5 separate regions of the Homo sapiens genome follow, and regions 1, 2, 4 and 5 are each linked to region 3. The links are contacts of gene promoters, found by promoter capture Hi-C in blood cells and fetal thymus (Javierre and others, 2016). All regions are on one chromosome and are shown on one strand. Each heading gives the region's core, a stretch centred on a gene start or on the middle of the fragment in contact. The rest is flanking DNA. Distances are from core to core; before and after follow the strand shown.

What was found. Contacts are between HindIII fragments. The CHiCAGO score rates a contact against its expected background, and 5 or more counts as called.
Region 1: a contact is called between a fragment that was not itself captured here and the fragment with the promoter of FBXO21 in region 3, in 3 of 17 cell types (activated CD4 T cells, total CD8 T cells and naive CD4 T cells). The highest score is 5.7, in activated CD4 T cells.
Region 2: a fragment that was not itself captured here is called in contact with the fragment with the promoter of FBXO21 in region 3 in 2 of 17 cell types (endothelial precursors and M2 macrophages); the score reaches 9.5 in endothelial precursors.
Region 4: a fragment that was not itself captured here is called in contact with the fragment with the promoter of FBXO21 in region 3 in 1 of 17 cell types (endothelial precursors); the score reaches 6.1 in endothelial precursors.
Region 5: a fragment that was not itself captured here is called in contact with the fragment with the promoter of FBXO21 in region 3 in 1 of 17 cell types (endothelial precursors); the score reaches 6.0 in endothelial precursors.

Annotation. Positions count from the first base shown.
Region 1 is chr12:116,272,871-116,275,570 of GRCh38, forward strand. All of the region lies in intron 1 of MED13L (mediator complex subunit 13L), which reads right to left. Among named protein-coding and RNA genes, the nearest start is that of MED13L, 3.5 kb to the right of the region's middle. The HindIII fragment of the contact is 1,389 bases long and covers 727-2,115 here.
Region 2 is chr12:117,856,750-117,859,449 of GRCh38, forward strand. The region is part of intron 2 of KSR2 (kinase suppressor of ras 2); the gene reads right to left. Among named protein-coding and RNA genes, the nearest start is that of KSR2, 110 kb to the right of the region's middle. The HindIII fragment of the contact is 1,217 bases long and covers 749-1,965 here.
Region 3 is chr12:117,189,153-117,191,852 of GRCh38, forward strand. FBXO21 (F-box protein 21) reads right to left here and starts at 1,318. Exons shown (of 12, transcript NM_015002.3): 1 at 1,066-1,318; 2 at 75-210. The coding sequence starts at 1,304. RefSeq lists an enhancer at 445-534 and silencers at 1,005-1,054, 1,335-1,434, 1,475-1,534. The HindIII fragment of the contact is 6,345 bases long and covers 46-2,700 here.
Region 4 is chr12:117,840,118-117,842,817 of GRCh38, forward strand. All of the region lies in intron 3 of KSR2 (kinase suppressor of ras 2), which reads right to left. The region is part of intron 2 of LOC105370011 (a long non-coding RNA gene); the gene reads left to right. Among named protein-coding and RNA genes, the nearest start is that of KSR2, 130 kb to the right of the region's middle. The HindIII fragment of the contact is 5,051 bases long and covers 1-2,700 here.
Region 5 is chr12:118,033,878-118,036,577 of GRCh38, forward strand. It overlaps WSB2 (WD repeat and SOCS box containing 2), which reads right to left. Exons shown (of 9, transcript NM_018639.5): 6 at 2,461-2,633; 7 at 1,337-1,447; 8 at 1,109-1,216; 9 at 1-481. The coding sequence ends at 319. It also overlaps a transcript of RFC5 not described here. Among named protein-coding and RNA genes, the nearest start is that of RFC5, 19 kb to the left of the region's middle. RefSeq lists enhancers at 1,736-1,795, 1,806-1,855. The HindIII fragment of the contact is 580 bases long and covers 1,002-1,581 here.

The sequences.
Region 1 (2,700 bases), core at 171-2,670, 920 kb before region 3:
CAATTGGAGGTTAATATGGCAACTATTACCGGGTGGCAATTATTGCTATTAAAAATATATAAATACTGTAACACCATGTGCTACTAACAACAAAATGCTAAACCGAAAACATACATTAACAAATTGTAAATATTTTCATTACAGAAAATGATAGCCAGGCGTAGTGGCTCATGCCTGTAATCCCAGCACTTTGGGAGGCTGAGGCAGGTGGATCACCTGAGGTCGGGAGTTTGAGACCAGCCTGACCAATATGGAGAAACCCCGTCTCTACTAAAAATACAAAATTAGCCGGGCGTGGTGGCACATGCCTGTAATCCCAGGTATTCCGGAGGCTGAGGGAGGAGAATCGCTAGAACCTGGGAGGCAGAGGTTGCAGTGAACTGAGATGGCACCTTTGCACTCCAGCCTGAGCAACAAGGCGAAACTCCGTCTCAAAAAAATAAAAAATAAAAAGAAAGAAAATGAACCATCATGGAAAAAAATGCTTTAAACATAAATTATAAAATCACAATGAACTGGTACAAAAAAATACCTTGTGTATTTTGGCACTTTGAAAATTAGAGAAATCATTCCCTTTTCCTAATTTCCATTTTATAGTCCACCCTATTTTGTTCTAGCGCAAAAAAAAAAAAAATTCAGACTTTCTACATTTACAACTACCTTCCCATTCTGCAAAAAAATCCCTTAAGACAAAAAGAAAGTAGGTCAACAATAGATTACCTTAAAAGCTTCAAATATAGAACTAATGGTCTTCAATAGGAATTATGTACTAATGGGTGTACTAGTGTCTCAATTCAGCAAGAATTTGAGATTATCACCCAATTATCCATAGTCAGGAAGATTCTAAGCAAATAAAACATGAAAGTGGAGCATACATATCTAAGAACTAGAGATCACTCCCTCATATCAAAGAGCACATATTTAAATCTAGTTAAAGGGCACAAAATCACTTTCTCCATATTAACTCAATAGAGAAAAATAAATGTCTACTTAACATCCAGAAATTATGTCTTCTCACAAGAATGAGTTCACATACCATAGGGTGCACTGTTACACTTTTCAAAAAGGCAGATTTAACACACTTTTAACTGAATGATTAACTGAGTGAATATATAAAAAGTCACCCAGAAATGTGATGGACAGCATAAGAAAATAGTTTTGAGTCAGAAAGGCACAGGCAGGCATGCACTTAATGCAGCAGCTACAAATCTCACAGCAGTTAGAATAAGAAACTTATACAATGACCCATATCATATATACACAATGGCATTTTTCACACGTTAGGAAAAGGGAATGGATGCTGAAAAATTAATTTAAGAAATTTGATTCCGTGCAGTAAAAAATCAGAAAATAAGTAAAAGACTAGCAGAAATCTTAAAGTGTCTGATTGATTGCACAATCAACTTTTGGTAAGCCATAATGAACACCTCAAGGTAATGGAAACTGGGTGGGTATTACCACGGTACAGAACTTAATCTCTTATTTCAATCTAACTAATGAGAGTATCTAGGTAAATTCTTTATAAATACTTTTCTCTGCAAAAAAAAACAAAACAAAAAAAAAAAAAACCCTGCAGGCCAAAAGAAAAAAATGCATGCTATTATTAAACCATAAAGCGTTCTTATAAAAAAACATGATTTTGAACAAGTGATTACATCTCCTTCAGAAATAACTATGATATACAATGTACTTTGGGCAACATATTTTTAATATTCCAGGTTGCTACTGCTGTATAGCATTTTCAAAAAAAAAAAATCTCAATTTGGAATCAGAAAAATGTACAAGTCAGCAGTTTAATTAATTTACATTTCTTCAATAGCACCTTATCCACACTCCACGTACAAGAGAATGAAGACATTCTACGTTCCTTTAAAAAAAAAAATCAACTAAGCATTTCTATGGTTCTCTAGTTCAAAGTTGCTACTTAAAAAATAATTCTTTTTAAAAAAGCATATTCAAAAATCAATCCCTTGGTTTAAAGAGGTTTAGGGGAGAAATATCTCAAACACAAACCTTTAGTCATTCAAAATCAAAGTACAGAATCCTCTCCTACAAAATTGCTTCTCCAAAAGAATCTCAAGCATTTTATCTCTGTAACGTTATCATCCTTACTTAAGCTTTAAAAAAAAAAAAAAAAGATAAAAGAAATGATATACCCTAAAGACTGGCTATACATATACTTTCATTTGTCTACAGAATCCGTATATACACAGCCATTACCAGTCAGCATAATATATGATAATTTGGGAGATCGCTCTACTTGGTTATTTTAATTACCTGTAAGTGTCAATGTGGTCACCAGTAACCACACAAAAACCATTTTAAATACCCCTTGATCAATATGTTTGCTAATCTATGGAAGTCCCTGAACCTGACTGATACTAAATGATAAGACTGAGGAGGGAAAAAGTTGAGGCAAAAGGGGGTTTTACTCCCACATACCAAAAAATCAAGGGAAAATTATCACAATACTAAGAGAAAGAATTCCAACTTATAAATGAATTTTAAGATTAAATATCTGGATTAAAATATTTCATTTAAAAAAATTTACCTGATTTTACTAGAGTGGGAGCAATGATACTATGTCTTTGTAGGTAAAAATCACGTGTTGATTTTTTGGTCTGCATTGTAACACATTTAATAAAGTAACACTTTCATTTGAAAAGTTGGCGAGAATTTGCATTTCTCCATTAGTCTCAT
Region 2 (2,700 bases), core at 107-2,606, 670 kb after region 3:
GTGAAATAGCCTACGGATGGTGTTTCTAGGGCAGTATTGCGGAATACATCTACCCTCTTGTGGTCATGTTTGTGTATTACAACAAGATACAGCTCCCACATTAAACTGATAGCCAGAAAGAAGAAAACTGTCTCAGTACAAAAAATTATCTTCAAAAATATGAGCTATGGTGCCTTTTCAACTCACCCAGGCAGGCAGGGGGCAGAGAGAGAAGAATAGTGGAGTCACTTAGAGGCTTTCTCAAATAGGGACACATTGCTGGTGAGCCCCTTTAAGAAAGGTGATGACCACGGATCTGTTTATTTCTGGTTGTTGTTTTTCTTAAATAGAGACAGGGTCTCCCTCTGTCACCAGGCTGGGGTGCAGTGAGGCCATCATATCTCACTGCAGCCTCAAACTCCTGGGTTCAAGCGACCCTCCCACCTCAGTCTCCTGAGTAGCTGGGACTACAGGCATGCACCAACATGCCTGGCTAATTTTTAAATTTTTTTGTAGAGATAGGATCTCACTATGTTGCCCAGGCTGGTCTCGAATTCCTGGCCTCAAGTGATCCTCCCACCTCGGTTTCCAAAAGTGCTGAGATTACGGACTTGAGCCACTGCACCCAGTCCAGGATCTGAAGGTACAGAATGACTCATGTTTGAAGGGGGTGATTCATAACATAAAAGGATTCTCCTCTTTGCTTCAGGATTCACTTGTGCATTTTAATCTTATGATTTATATATGTATATATTTCAATTTACTCTAAAGCTTAAGTTCAGAAAAAAATCATAAAAGTAACATTTTTATAACATCAAAAATGGAGAAACCCTTAACAAACCTGGGCCAAAAGGGCAGACACACCTCTGTTTGATAAAATAATAGTAATAATAATAGCTGAAATGGATGGAACACTGTTTTAAGGTTTTTGATAGATTTCCTTTTATTATCACAAAAACTACTGAAAGTAGGCACTTTTATCATCACCACTTACAGACTAGGACAGTAAAATTCAGAGAGGTTAGACCACTTGCCTAAGGTCACACAGCAAGTCATTGGTGGAGCCAGGATTCAAACCCAGCTGTTTTACTGTGGAGCTTTCTCCATACTTCAGTCACTTCACAGAAAGGGGACCTCTGGTGGACACATACCTGAACTGCAGACAAAGAGCAGAAACCCCACGTCTTCTCCCGCCCACTCCCTGGGTCCCTGGACTCAAGATGCTCAGTGACTAAGGCAAGAGCCAAAACTCAGGTACCTGCAGGTCAGGTAAATGTAAATGAGCAAATCGCTGCCAGACAGGAGCTCAGTTCAGCATGGTCAACATTTCTGATTTTGTAAGTGAAGCCAGAGATCTCTGGGTTTTTTAGACAGACTCTTTCGGTTTTTAAGTATTGGCTCAAAATAAATGTCCTGACATCATATTAACCAAACAACAACAACATGTCTGCATATCAGAACCAGCTTGAGGGCCACCAGTTTTCAACCCCTGGTCTAGAATCGAATCGTTTCTACCTTATTTGCCCCCACAAGTGGCACTTGATATATAAATGACTCTGAAGCCTCCAAAAGAAATGCCCTGAGCCATGCAAATACAACACTGTCTGTCCTTATACAGGACCATTCATTCTAAGGATATTTGCAAGAAACTCATCTGGCCATACTGGGAATGAAATAAGGAAATACGAGATTGCGCGTGGTCTGATGTGCATATGCAAGATGGGGTGGGGTGGGGGCCTGGAGGAATGGAGCGGGGTGATGCTGCCTCTAACTTGGGATTCTTAGATCTGGTGGGGCTGGGTGAGATTCTTGTCCCTGCGGACAAGGTCTAAAAAAGACAGGAAGCCTCTTCAAGTAGGAAGCAGGGAGCGCCTCGAGAGAGGACTCTTGGTTTCACTGGCAGGGAGGCAAGCTCCTCTTCTGCCCAGCTCTGGGGGGACCCAGGCAACAGGAAAACAAGGCTAATGCACAGTGCTTCTGACCTAAAGCTTTGCTGTCCATCTGAGCTGGACATCCTGCTAGCCCCATCCACTTGCCAGCTAGACTACTCACTTAGCTCTGAGCCTCAGTTTCCCACTCTGTACAAGGGGGATAACAGTCACACCTACTCAAAAGGTCATTGCGAGGAGGCTGAACAGTCTCAGCAGTTGAGATCCTAAGTGCAAAACCCTTTGCACAATGCCTGGCATGAAAGATGCAGTGATGTCCGCTGGTTTTATTAGGTTTGGCTTGGCCCTGTCACTGCAAATGAGTCGGTCTCTGGGATCCCAGGGGGTAAGAAAATCTCACAATCCTCAAGATGTTAAGAACGTGGTCTAATCTTTGAGAGCGGACATAAGATGTCAGATGCTCACAACAGTAACAGGCTGGCATCTACTGAGTGCTATTTGGTGCCAGAATATGAGCTGAACTTTTTTTTTTTTTTTTTTTTTTTTTGAGACAGAGTCTTTCTCTACACCCAGGCTGGAGTACAGTGGTGGGATCTCAGTTCACTGCAACATCTGTCTCACAGGTTCAAGCTATTCTCCTGCCTCAGCCTCCCGAGTAGCTGGGACTGCAGGCGTGCACCACCATGCCCGGCTAATTTTTGTACTTTCAGTAGAGACGGGGTTTTGCCATGTTGGCCAGGCTGGCCTCAAACTCCTGACCTCAAGTGATCTGCCAAAAGTGCTGGGATTACAGGCATGAGCCACCGCGCCTGGCCTGTTTTTTTCGTTTTTT
Region 3 (2,700 bases), core at 68-2,567:
ATGAGCTCATGCCTGCAGACCCAGACACATACACCAGCAAGCCAAAGCTTAGAGCCACATCAACAGATCCTTACGTGCTCTGAAAAGAACCTCTTTGAGAACGAGGCTACAATCTTCCGCGCTTCTAACCCAGCTTTTTGCCGAACTTTATACTCTTCCAACCAATTGACGTAGTCGGTGGGGCTGTAGTGTTTCATAAGGGAAGGCCACCTACGAGGAGAGAAACACCCCCTCAGCTTAACAGAAACTCAAAGGCAGGCGGCCACGAATCCAAGGCAGCCTTGGAAACAGGGACAGCAGTGGCGTCCAGTGGTAAGAGGGACCCCGGCGAGAGACCTAGTTCAAAACCCCACCAGCATTCACTCACTCACTCCCGGTGTGACCTTGGCGTAGCGGCATGAATGATGTCTCCATTCCCCATCTCTAAAATGGGGACAGTTGTAACAACAACAACAATAATAATAATGACAATGACAGTGAGCACTGATTGAGCGCCTCCTAGGAGCCGGGGCCCTGCGTGCGTGCCTCCCGGACATCATCTAATTTAATAAACACGGTGAAAGGTAGGTCTAATGATCACCACCACTCAAAGTCTATGAACGAGGCTCAAAAAAAGGGAAGTCGCTCCCCCCAAGGTCACAGAGGGAGTGTGCAGGGCCAGATTTCATCCTGGGGCCACGCTGAAATCTGTGCCGTCCACAACCAGCCCGGGGATGCTGCGCCCGCCCGATCGATGCATCACTGGGTCCATGTAAACATTTCAGCCCGAAGTCGGGCACAAAAGAAGCGCGCAAAAGGGACGAGCCGCGCCGCCGCCAGCGTCACCCTTGACGGAGGACCCGGCTGCGAGGCGCTCCTAGATGCGCCATTTGGGGACCCGGGGGTCCGCCTGGCGTGGCCCCGCAGGGTCCGGGGCCTGGAGGCCTTTGTCTGTCTGTCCGCGGGAAGGGGTCCGGGGTGGGGTCCGCGCGCGGGGCGGCCGCGGGGAGCTAGCGGGGCGGCTGCCCGGCCCCGGGGGGCGCGGGGCGGTGGGCGCGCAGCCGGGGCGCGGGGCCGCTGGCTCACCTCACCCGGAACTGCTCCTTCCACACCTTCCCGCTGCTCTGGCACAGCTCGCGCAGCCGCCGGCAGGTGCTGGAGACACGGCCGATGTCGGCGGCCGTCAGCGAGCCGCAGCACAGGATGTACTCCAGCACCTCACCCGGCAGGTTGACGAGGCAGCTGAGGCCCGCTACCTCCGGCGCGGCCTCCTCCGCCAGCGCCGGCACCACCTCCATCGCGCTGTCGACTGCTGCCGCCGCCATCTTGTCCGCGTACCTGGGGCCGCCGCGCGCGCGCGTGCGAGAGTGCCCGGGCGCCCCGCCTGGCCCCGCCTACTGGTCTTGGGGGCGAGTCCTGAGATCGCTCCGCCCATCCGCGGGCCACACCTCCCCTGCATCGGCTGGGGGCTGCGCGGGTGGCAGCGCCGCAAAAGGGAGGACATAATTGGGCTCTGTGCTTGGAGCCGGCAGCGCAAGCCGCCTCTAGTCCGGGACAACAATAGTAGCACTGATTCTTTTAAACGTAATTAATGTTTAAAATTAACAAATAAAAATGGTATCTATTCTCACGCGTGCTGAGCGCTTTCTGTGCGCATTGGACCTTTCCGAATTACCCTGCGAACTTTCTCCCCATATTACAGATGGGGAAACAGGTTCGGAGAGTGAGAGGGCTTGCTCAGGATCCCTTGTCTTGGATTTTTTTTCCCCCTTTGGGAAGGAGTCTTGCTCTCACCCAGGCTGGAGGGCAGTGGCGCTATCTCGGCTCACTGCAACCTCTGCCTCCTGGGTTCAAGCGATTCTCCTGCCTCAGCCTCCCGTGCGGATGGGATTACAGGCGCGCGCCACCACCCAGGTTGGAGTGCAGTGGCCGTGATCTCGGCTCACTGCAACTTCCACCTCCCTGGTTCAAGCAATTATCCTGCGTCAGCCTCCCGAGTAGCTGGGATTACAGGCGCCCGCCACCACAGCCAGCTAATTTTTGTATTTTTAGTAGAGACAGGGTTTCACCATGTTGGTCAGGCTGGTCTCGAACTCCTGACCTCAAATGATCCACCCACCTCGGCCTCCCAAAGTGCTGGGATTACAGGCGTGAGCCACCGCGCCCAGCCCCTTGTCTTGGATTCTATTTCAGATCCACTTGACTTTTGCTTGTCAGTAATCTTAACCATATGATGTAATAATAACAATATTCTTGAGTGGGTGCTATGGGAAGCCCTCTATGATGGTGTAGGGGAGTAATAATAATCCTCAAATGTGTGCCCTGATTTTAGGCTAATAGAGGGCAGGCAGAGAGCTCTCCTGTACTGGTTTCTTAATTGTTTCCAGCTCAACAATCCTTCATATTTGGGGAGCATAGTCTGACCTCCCACAATAGGTACCACAGTTATACCTATTCTACAGAAAAGGCAAAGTTCTTCCAGGTGGCAGTCACTGGTTCAAAGTTACAGAGACAAAAGTGCTAAAGCCTGGATTTGAGTCTTCAAAGCGGGAGTTATCACTCAGGATTGGGAGGGTAGTCTCAGGATCTGCACATTAAAAAAAAAAAATCAGTTTAGTTCAGTGCCAAAGCCCTGTGTTGTGTGCCCTGGGGATACAGGGGTGAGAAAAATGGAGTCTTTGCTTCAAAACCTCAAAGTGCAATTACAGTTAGAAGGATCTG
Region 4 (2,700 bases), core at 29-2,528, 650 kb after region 3:
AGATGGAGTCTCCCTCTGTCACCCAGGCCAGAGTGCAATGCGCAATCTTGGCTGTCTGCAGCGTCCGCCTCCAGGGTTCAAGCCATTCTCCTGCCTCGACGCTCTGAGTAGCTGGAACTATAGGCGTGCACCACAACGCCTGGCTAATTTTTGTATTTTTAGTAGAGATGGGGTTTCACCATGTTGGCCAGGCTGTTCTTGAACTCCTGACCCCAGGTGATCCACCCACCTTGGCCTCCCAAAGTGCTGGGATTACAGGTGTGAGTCACCACACCTGGCCTATTTATTTATTTATTGAGATGGAATCTTGCTCTGTTGCCCAGGCTGGAGTGCAGTGGCATGATCTCAGCTTACTGCAGCCTCCACCTCCTGGGTTCAAACAATTATCCTGCCTCAGCCTCTCAAGTAACTGGGACTATTGGCATGCACCACCATGCCCAGCCAAATTTTATATTTTTAGTGGAGACAGGGTTTCACCATTTTGGCCAGGTTGGACTCAAAATCCTGACCTCCAGTGATCCATCTGCCTCGGCATCCCAAAGTGCTGGGATTACAGGCGTAAGCCACCACGCCTGTCCCCATGCAGCTGTTTAAAAAATACTAAGCCAGGCATGGTGGCTTACGCCTATAATCCCAACACTCTGGGAGGCCGAGGTGGGCGAATCACGAGGTCAGGAGTTTGAGACCAACCTGGCCAACATGGTGAAACCCCGTCTCTACTAAAAATACAAAAAATTAGCTGGGCATAGTGGTGGGTGCCTGTAATCCCAGCTACTTGGGAGGCTGAGGCAGGAGAATTGCTTGAACCTGGGAGGCAGAGGTTGCAGTGAGCCGAGATTAAGCCGCTGCAATCTAGCCGGGGCGACAGAGTGATTCTGTCTCAAAAAAAAAAAAAAATTGCTAAGTAACATACCAATGTGGATGCAAATTATGGTCAATGCGGTGCTTTCTTTTTCTCTCCCAAACAATAGCTTGGGTACTTCTCACACGAGTGTATAAGTTGGTAATCAGGGAAATAATTAGAGAAAGCAAAAAGCCACCTGAGTGAAAATCATGACTATAATGAACTGGAGCCATCTCCCCTCAGCATATTTTAAAGGAAGGCAAGAATAATTTTGCTCCAAATAATAACAAATATTTTCATCCTCCTTGCCCTTTCTGCCTTCCCCCTGCATGTTCCCTGCAAGTTTCAAACATAATCATGCGCCCACAGAAGCCTCCCATCCTCCCTCAGGACCGTGGCTGGGAAGGACAGAGATACTGATGGAGAGTCAAATCTGCTGGGAATGTTCCCATCTGTGAAACTGGGCGTGCAGCCTAATCTGCCCACCACTCATATGGTTGCGAGGCTAAAACAAGATCACCTGCATGCAGGTGCTTCCTAAAACTGAAGGTGCTCTGCAAATGTGCAATATTATTTGATATTTACATGCAGCCTTTAAATAATTTCTTTTTATCTCAGTTCCAGTGTAAGCTGCTACAAAAGCCCCAAAGGGTTGCTCCCTCAAGCTGAGCAAATGGAAACACAGGGACCACTCAGAGTTAAGGAGAAAGCCATTCATTCCCACCACTTTTTTATGTGGGAAGCCTCCGCTTAACAGGAGTCAGACAGAAATGAGTTCAAACCCCGCCTCTGACACTTAGTTGCTGTGTGACCACCACCCCCCTCCCAGGCAAGGGCTCTACCTTTCTGAGCCTCAGTTTTCTTACCAGAAAATAGGAATAATAATCCTACGGACCTCATGAGGTTGTTGAAGAATTAAATGAGCAGGTGCTGCGTGACTTGGCCCAGTAAGAACTCAATCAATATTTGTCGCTGCTGTTATCATCAACCACTAGCATTCACTCAGTCACTCCGTGACTACTTCTTGCATTCCAACTCTGAGCCAGATGCAGGGAGAATTCCAACACAGGGGTTCTCAAAGCGTGTTCCCCAAACCAGCAGCACCAGCGTCGCCTGGGAACTTGTTAATGCAGATTTCTGGGCACTGCCCCGGACTGGCTGAAGCAGGAACTCTGGGAGTGGAACCCTCTGGGGGATTCTGATACATGTTGAGGTTTTGAGCACCACTGTTCTTGTGGAAAGGGGTATGAAAATAAACAAAATCATTTTAGATATGCTAGAGACTATGATAGGATAGAGAGTGGCCAGGATGGAAGTGGGACTCTGAGAAGCTGGCAGTTGGGCTGAGTCCAAAATGACAAGGAATCAGCCAGAGGAAGATTGAGGCAGGGTATTCCAGGCAGAAAGAAGGGCTGTGCAAAGGCCCTGGGGCAGGCGTTGTGAAGAAGAGAGGGTAGCTGGGTGCAATGAGCCAGTGAAAACATCAGCAGATAGGGACCAGATCGGGAGCCCAGGGACAGGACTGGGGGTCTCATTCTAAGATGTAATAGTCTGTTTGGAGCTGACTCAGTTCATGTAGTTTCATGGAACCCACAAACCTCAAAGAGTTCAGGCCCTGCCAAGCACAAGTTCAATGTCAATTCTGCACCCAATTCTTCTGCCCAGCACCTCGTGGATGCCAGGAATAAAAAGAGAAAGTGACTACAGCGCTGATCAGAGATGACAGCCAGAGAGTCGGGTTCTCTTTGTTCTCATTGGGGGGGTTCCACAAAAGCCAGATGCTGGCCACATGAAGCAGCAGGTGGGCAAGACAGAGGGGGCAGGGGTGGCCTGCAAGAAAGAGAAAGTGGGCTGCA
Region 5 (2,700 bases), core at 42-2,541, 840 kb after region 3:
AAACAACATCAGTAACTGCACTTTGAATCAAAACAAGCAGAAAGAGTTCAACACTTGCTGTTCATAACTGGACTGAAAATTTAACGTAAGGCTCTGTTGCCGTGCAAGTGGAATCTCTTCCTCTAAGACTGACTTTCACATGCCAGGGAGAGAAAGATCCATGACTAGTACACTGGAATCTGGTTTTGCTACATTCTATTCACAATCCCAAAGAAATGCTATTTCAATGCAAGACCAGATGTTTGGCCCATTATTCCAGCAACTCCCTTTGACAGGACGATTTACCCTGCTACAAAGAAGCACAAGATGTGGTGTTGCTTAAAAAGTCCTGTATGTGAGGAACTCTTTCATTTTCTTGGGGATTGGCAGTGCTAGGACTTGGTAAGTTGTTAGGAAACTTCGAAGGGCTTTCCGGCATAAGTGCTTCAGTGAGGACAGGACCCTAGGAGCTGTCCAGAACTGGACGTGGCCATCTCTTGTCCTAAAATGAAACAGAAACCGATGCTAAGACAGAGCTTGGATGTTCATGTTTTCATGAGGATGAATACTCATGTTTCTGTTTTGACTGCAAAGAGCAGGAGACTTCGGAGAGTGAAATGTAACCCTGACTGTGGAAATGGATGTAAAATTGTGGTGCTGAATAATTAAAGCTGCTGATAGGATTAGAAAAACTCAAGACACCTGTGATACCAAAGCGCTCTCTCTGTCTCTCTCTCGGCACAGCCCTTTCTAAATCTGACCACAGTTAGTTCAAAAGTATAAGGGGGAAGAGTGCCACCTACTGAATTATAGATGTTACCTGTAAAGTGGTCTTTTAGCCCTAAATGGTTTCCCATATATTATGCATCATCTCAATTTTATTCTCCCTTGTGAACTTGGCCCATTAGGTGGCATGACTTACAGATCTTTAATTACATTTAGGTTAAATATTCAGAGAAAATGGGACACCGTTATTAGCAAAATCGATCATTTGAGTTTTATATAATCTTGAATTGCCTTAAAGCTTTCCTCATAGGCAAGAAAATTCTAGATGGTTTCTTTCCTTAAAAAGCTCCATGGTATACTCAGCAGAAAGCACCACCCATCTGTTCAGCTAACAAATACATACCCTGTGGCAATGACTCCACCATGTGGAAAAAATGTGCAGCAAAGCCCATTGGTCATAGGAGCAAATGCAATGGGAGTTTTCAGTTCCAGGGCCCAGATCCTGAGGAGTCTGGATGGGGAGAGAGAACATCTGGATATTAGCTGACCCAGGGCCAGACCAAGAGGGCCTTGCTGCCATTACTTGCAAGCACTTGTTCTGAGGCCATGTAAAGAGAGTTCTCTTCGTTACCTGTCATCTGCCACCGTGGCAAGGTACAAGCCTTCTGGAGAGAAGCACACAGATCTCAGTGAGCTAATGTGGACGTCACTGTCATCCATGGCGGGGTCAACCTGGGTGTGGCTGGGAAGGAAAGAAACAGGATGGCAGGCCTGGAGTGATGGCTGCTCTCCACCCTCCATCATCACCCTAGGCAGGAAGCCAAACTGCCCTGGCTACAAAAGGGCTCAAGATGCATTGTGTGCCCCTCGTGGAAAAGCTTGGGATTTGCACACTGGGAAAAAAAAGGGTATCTCAGAAGGCTCCAGGTGTCCTGTGGATGAAGGGTTACTAACACTTCCTTGTGCTAATTTGCTTATGCAAAGTAGGTCAGCCCTCACTTTAATGCCACAGTAGAAACTGCAAGTCTTTTTTAGGCTAAGATACATGATAATTATAGGACTGCCTATTATTTGCTTCATAAAACAACAGACACAAAAGGAAAAAGGAGACCAAGTTTGTGAGAACATGAAACTCATTTTGGAAAGCACAGTTTCGATAAGAGGCTCTTTCTGAACTTGTTACTACAGTTATTAGTAAATGGAAATAAAGAGTCATATTGAGGCTTCATAATGCTGATTCCGAAGAAGTACACACAGCCACCTGAATCAGGAGACTGGAAGACACTCAAAGCTACTTGAGAGGGCTTAATTGACAAGGCATCACTAAGAAGCAATGAACCAGGCCAGGCGCAGTGGCTCATGCCTATAATAGCAGTTTGGGAGACTGAGGCGGTGGATCACCTGAGGTCAGGAGTTTGAGACTAGCCTGGCCAACATGGTGAAACCCCATCTCTAATAAAAATACAAAAATTAGCCAGGCCTGGTGGCGCACGCTTGTAGTCCTAGCTACTCGGGAGGCTCAGGCAGCAGAATCGCTTGAACCCGGGAGGTGGAGGTTGCAGTGATCCAAGATTGCGCCACTGCACTCCAGCCTGGGTGACAGAGCGAGACTCCGTCTCAAAAGAGACCCACTGTGCCTTTTTATCCAGCTTGTCCCCTCCCATGTCCCAGATTCTAAAAGAGACATGTCTAATCCCAGGCAGGTTCCTCATCAGTCCCCCCACAAAAAAGTCATAGCAGGGATTCAGTCCTTACTGGAGTGACCTCAGCCTTTCGCCGGTGTAGGGGTCCCACATAATCACATTGGTATCGTAAGAAGCCGTGACAAGCAGGGCAGAGTCGGGGGAGAAGTCACAAGAGACAACACTGCTTTGATGGCCCTCTAGCTTCCGAATTAACGTGTAGGACCTCATGCTCCATAGAAAGACCTGTGGAAAGTAAGAAGTGCCTGGTTAGGGCAGAAGCAAAGTGCTTAGGACTCAAACGGAGGGAGGG